Linked DNA regions of Homo sapiens: region 1 is linked to region 2. Evidence: promoter capture Hi-C in 16 types of primary human blood cells and fetal thymus (Javierre and others, 2016). All regions are on one chromosome and are shown on one strand. Each heading gives the region's core, a stretch centred on a gene start or on the middle of the fragment in contact. The rest is flanking DNA. Distances are from core to core; before and after follow the strand shown. Region 1 holds the start of TMEM208 (transmembrane protein 208). Region 2 holds the start of CTRL (chymotrypsin like).

Region 1 (2,947 bases), core at 369-2,868, 700 kb before region 2:
TCTCCCCATTGCCCTACGCACACAGCATGTCTATTTCCTTTTGCCTATGCGGGCCTTTTCCCTGGGATCCCCTTCTTGAAGCTTAACTTCACCAACCCATTGTGATCTCTCCTTCCTTTCTCAGATGCCAAGCACGCAGGCACAGTGCTCAGCCAGTGCTTACTGGATTAAATTAAGGTTGGACAGTCCAGTCCTCTACCTCTATTTTCACCAAGAGTATGCTCAGGGAAGGGGTCGGGGAAATAAAGCAGTCATTACTGAGAGGACAATGACTGGCAGAATAGACTTCTGGGCCAGGAAGGGAGGCATAGGGAAGACAGTATTGATGGGGACTGGGACTGACCAAGTCCCAATCCCTCCAGGGAGGCACGGAAGCCTGTTTGAGCTGAGTTAAGACAGTGGCCATCCTGTCTTCTGGGGCTAAGCAGCCAGCCCAAGAGCAAAGGGAGAGGGGAACAAACCTGTCATCCCTTGGGGTGAGTCGGGAAGGGACACAATTCATTGACCTAAGAAGAGGGTGGCCTTTCTAGAGGGACAAGAGGAGGCAGTGATGAGGATGGAGTGACCATCCCATGAGTCCCATCTCAAGGGGGCTACTGGAGATAATGATTGGTCACTCATGGGGTCTATGGGGATGGAAATAGATAGCCCCTAAAGCTAAGGGGGAAAGGGATAGCACTGCAAGCTCAATAGGGGTGGGAACAGGCCTATTTTTGCTAAGGACAGGAGCATCATTCCAGGACCGATGGGAAAGGGTGGCCTGTTTCCCATGGGCAGAGAGAGGGGGCTGCCAACCCTCAGGACAAAAGAGATGGAGAAGCCATTCCAACAGGCCACTGAAGACAAAACCTGTTATCTCCCTGGCAGATGGGGCAGAGTGGTCTTGCCCCTGGCTAAGGGGAAGGAGCAAACATCCCACGGAGTGAAAGAGGTAAGGGCGGCCATCACTAGGGGCCTAGGAATGGGGAACAGGCCTATCCTTGTTAAAGGAACTCAGAGATCATTGCAGTTGATGGGGAGGGAGCAGTCTGTTTCCCACTGCCAGGGAGAAGGGGCGGCCGTCTCTGTAGGAAATGGAGAGATCATCCCAAGGGACCAATGGGGATAAGATCAGTTACCCTTCGGGACGATGAGATGGAGCGGACATCTTCCAGAACTGAGCGGGGAGGAGACAGCCACTTCAAGGGAAGGGGATGGGCAGAGGGCCTGTTCTCGCGGAGATGACAGGGCAGCTATCTTCTGGGGCCGATAGGGAAGGGGAGGACGGTCCCCCAAGCTAAAGGGACAGAGTGGCCCAAAGGAGGAACCGTTACCCAGAGCTAGAAGGTCCCGGGATCGGGAGGGCGGGTCGTTTCCGCCAGGCTGGAGGGGCCGGGCTAGCTATCTGACAGCCCCTCCCCAAAGCTCAGGACCGCGAGGGCGGGGCCTGTCCAGAGCTAGGCCTGAGGGCGGCTTCCTCTCACCTCCAGGGGCAGCGACTCCGCCATCGCATCCCTGCCGCCTCCGCCCCCACTGCGCAAGGCTTTCTGGGAAATGTAGTCTCGCCTCTTTGGGGCGGGGCTTGGGAAGGAAGTGAGACCTATTTCCGTCGCAAAAGCTGACGACTTCGGTCTGCGCCGGAAGTGCATGAGCTGCCGATGTGGTGCTTAGTGATTGCGGTTTCGGTCGCTCTCCCGTGTTTCCCGGGCTGGGTATTTGCCTCGCACCATGGCGGTAAGGAGGATGGATAGGGCGGGGTCCGCACCAGCAAAGCTCTCCAGGGGCTGTGAGAGTGAAAACTGAGAAAGAACATTAAGGGATATGGGGTGGGCCAGAGCGGGGCGCCATCCCTGGCCAGACCGTGCTAGAGCTGGGCTGGGGGGATGGCGGCGCAGGACCATACCAGGACTAGTGCCAGAGCGGGGTGGGCATCAGTACCAGGGCAGGCCAGAGATCTAAGTGACCTGAGGTGGGGGTTAACCCAGATCGGGACTACGCCAGCGGAGGCCTGAGAGAGGCACCATTCAACTCCGCTCAGGAGTACCCTTGGAAGAGTCGTTAGCCTAAAGCCAGACTACCACGGGATCCAGAGGCGGTATTAGCTTAGGATTGAATTGTTCCAGGGCGAGCAAGAGGCGATTGATCCTAGCTGCGGGTGCTGGAGAGATGGCGTCAGCCCTAGGCAGAATGGACTGGAGGATGGGTGGACATCCCAGGGATTTTGCTAGGTTTCTGCACTACGGGGACCTGGCTGAGTTGCGGATGGAGCTCTATAGCTCACCAGGCTGGTGGGGAGAATGAGGAGGACCGTGGCCTCCTGACGGCATCTCATCATTCCTCTGCAGCCCAAGGGCAAAGTGGGCACGAGAGGGAAGAAGCAGATATTTGAAGAGAACAGAGAGACTCTGAAGTTCTACCTGCGGATCATACTGGGGGCCAATGTAAGTGCCTACCTCCTTGCTTCTATGCCCACTTATAGTCAGTTCCCTAGTCCTCAGCCCTGCTTGGTGACGAGGAGTGGTACCCGAAAAAGCTCTAGAAGAGAGCTCCAGTCAAAAAGAAATGAGAGATCTGGGCACAGAGAAAGTGCTAACTAGTAAAACACAAAGAAAATGAAGGCGTGAGTCGTAGCTGAATTTGAGAGCTCTTCCTACCTCCAAGTACACAAAGGCTTCTTTCCTGGGCTGAGTTGGGTGTCAGAGGAGAGTGGGTATTTGGGATTCAGGGAGCAGGGCCCTTTCTTCAACCCTGTAAGAACAACCTTGCTCCTCCCACAGCCTGGCCTAATTCTTGGTCAGAGTTGAGGGAGACCCATGGTTTGGAGGTAACTTCTGACCCCAACCTGATCCTGTGATTGCTTGCAGGCCATTTACTGCCTTGTGACGTTGGTCTTCTTTTACTCATCTGCCTCATTTTGGGCCTGGGTAAGTATCTCCATCCTGGGAGGTGGATGAGTGCGTAGGGTCAG
Region 2 (2,800 bases), core at 251-2,750:
TCCCCACCCCAGTCCTCCCACCCTGAGCTTTGGCCTGAGTCCCTACCCACGCCACTGAGGCGACCCCAGCCGGTGGTGACACACGTGAGGCCTTCAGTCAGAGCCTCGTTTGAGGATGCCAGGCAAACTGGCGAGATGCGTGTTGTGTACTGGGCTGGCGAGGCGAGCTTCAGCAGCGTCACGTCATTGTTCATGGTGGTAGAGTTCCAGCTAGGGTGTGTAATGGCCTGTGGGGTCAGAAACAGTCCATGTTCTGATGGGTGCTGAGCAGGGTAGGCCAGGGCATGTCCTGAATTCCTCGTTCCCAGCACCCACCCACCTGCACTGCCCACTTTTCCTCCGTGTCTGCAGCCCAGGCACTCACCCGAGAGACGGACAGAACCTGCAAGGGCTCTGCGTTTGATGATCGGTCATACTCGCCCAGGACAACAAAATGGCGGCCAGGGCTGCAAGGGGGTGGGATTAGGCAGCTGCAGGGAGGCCAGCGCGAGAGGGGGACAGCCAGGGGAGGAGGCAGGAAGAGGCGAGGGGCGGGGCAGGTGGAATGCAGGCACTCACCTGACATTGCAGTGGGCAGCAGTGACCACCCAGGACTGGCTGATGAGAGAACCACCGCAGAAGTGGAAGCCGCTGCTGTCCTGTGGTCAGGGCTCAGAGGTCAGAGTGGGGGTGGGCTGCTGAGGCTGCCCCTAGGCATGACGTACCCAGGACCCTGCCCACCCCTCTGGTGGTGTACCTGCAGGGACACCTGCCAGGGCCAGGAGCCCAACACTGCATTCTCCCCGTTGACAATCCTCTGGCTGAAGCTCAGTGCCGGTTTGATGGCAGGAATGCCGCAGCCTGGCCATTGGGCTAATGAGGACCTGCTTCCCATGCCTCAGCCCATCTTTCCCCACCTCCTTTTGGGTGCCCCAGGCTGTGCACCCCAGAGAGGTCTGTCGAGAGGGTACAGCACTACCCCTTCCCCAACAGGGTACATGCAAGCACCTTCGGGCCCCACAGCTATCTTGGTTATCCCTATCCACCCAGTCCCCCAGCCCTGCTGTTCTCCTACATCTGTCTCCAGCCTAGTCCCCGCTGTTCCCCATCTCTACCCCTGGTCTCTCTGCCCCCTCCCGACCTGAACAGTTCATACCCTTCATGCAGCCAGAAGGTTCTTTCTAAAAGACATGGACAGGTCTTCCTGTCTCAGCTTCCTAAACCCTCCCGGGCTCCAGGGCCTGGCTCAATCTCTGGTCCTATTTGTGAGACCACCCCACCTCTTGCCCCCTCCCAGCCCTGCAGGCCTGTTCCCTGCTCCACTGCCCTGGCATATCCTGTTTCTTTTGCCCACTCTGTCCACCTTCGTCCCTTCCAGCCAGCCTAGCTCCTTCCCTGGGCTGTTGCTGGGAGCTGAGTTGCTCCCAGGGCTGAATCAGGGCTGGTCCTGGCCCACTCACCCCAGGAGGAGCCGAGGAGAACCAGGCTTAGGGTCAGGCTGAGCAGCAACATCGTGGCAGATGTGAGGTTGGGAGCTGGGTCTGGCTTTATGGGTCTTCTCGTCCTTGAGCTAAAGCTCCAGGCCTGAGGCCAGGCCAGCTGTGTAGACTCAGCCCCCTCCCACGCTCCAGGCAAGACAGGCCCTTTAGGCCAAGGTCCCCTGACCGAGACCTAGACTTATCAGACAGAGCCCAGGTGTGAGACTCACCTCTGCCACCTCCCAAAGCCTGGCCTCTAATTGGCTCCCAGAACCACCTCCCATTCCAAATGTTGAGCCCTCGGTACTGAGGACAGATGGTTAAATTAGGTCTATAGTGACAACCTGGTGGCTGGGATCACAGGAGTCACCCAGGGCTAACAAAGGCACCAGGCTTTCAGAGAAGGCCGCTCAGCGTCCAGGGTGTTCTGACTGGTGGATGGAATGCTCACTGCGGTCAACTTTGCTGTGAAGGGCCAGGGGCTGTGAGGTTCTGGCAGGCTGGGAGTCCTAACACATCATCGCAGTGGTTCCTCGTCCATTTGGAACAGGAGTCACAGGTCTGCTCAGAGATGGTGACTCTCCCACCAGCACGTGGTTGAGTTGTACACAAACTCGCATTTGTCTGGCGCTGAAGCCTCCGCTCTTAACAATGAGATGATACTTATGAAGGGCCTGGCATTTAGGAGGGCAAAGTGTGAGCTCTTGGTGCCTGGCCGACCGTGGACTGAGGCTGCAGGTGGAGAGTGACAGACATCAAATCTCTGCCACCCTCTTTAGGCCTTGGGGCTCCCATGGGCAAGCCCCTGGTGTCTGTAGCCCATTTGTTACTGAGCTGCAGACCAAGCTTGAAGGGAGAAGACACCCTGTGTGCAAAGTTCCAACAGGTGCATTGGCTGGCGGCCTTCTGGGAGTGTGAGGGCTTTAACTGATTCAAGAACAGATCAGGGCTGGGTGTGGTGGCTCACACCTGTAATCCCAAAACTTTGGGAGGCAGACGTAGGAGGCTTGATTCCAGGAGTTCGAGACCAGCCTGAGCAACATCATGAAACCCTGTCTCTACAAAAAAAATTTTTTTAAATTAAGAAATGAGCTGGGTATGATGGTACACACCTGTAGTCCCAGCAACTCAGAAGGCTGAGGCAGGAGGGATCACTTGAGCCCTTAAGTTCAAGGCTGCAGTGAGCCATGAGTGCACCACTGCATTCCGGCCTGGGCGATGGAGCTAGACCCCATCTCAAAGAAACAGCATCAGCCAAAAAATGAGATGAATTGGCTGGGCACGGTGGCTCACGCCTGTAATCCCAGCACTTTGGGAGGCCGACGCGGGCGGATCATGAGGTC

Evidence for each region. The method cuts DNA at HindIII sites, captures the fragments that hold promoters and counts their contacts. A CHiCAGO score of 5 or more calls a contact.
Region 1: a contact is called between the fragment with the promoter of TMEM208 here and the fragment with the promoter of CTRL in region 2, in 2 of 17 cell types (neutrophils and total B cells). The highest score is 6.0, in neutrophils.

What each region holds. Positions count from the first base shown.
Region 1 is chr16:67,225,512-67,228,458 of GRCh38, forward strand. It overlaps TMEM208 (transmembrane protein 208), which reads left to right and starts at 1,619. Exons shown (of 6, transcript NM_014187.4): 1 at 1,619-1,713; 2 at 2,325-2,420; 3 at 2,844-2,903. The coding sequence starts at 1,708. It also overlaps the pseudogene FBXL9P. RefSeq lists an enhancer at 1,422-1,771. The HindIII fragment of the contact is 11,037 bases long and covers 80-2,947 here.
Region 2 is chr16:67,930,362-67,933,161 of GRCh38, forward strand. CTRL (chymotrypsin like) reads right to left here and starts at 1,501. Exons shown (of 7, transcript NM_001907.3): 1 at 1,440-1,501; 2 at 737-840; 3 at 559-638; 4 at 365-446; 5 at 47-227. The coding sequence starts at 1,491. RefSeq lists enhancers at 1-475, 476-992. The HindIII fragment of the contact is 4,510 bases long and covers 1-2,301 here.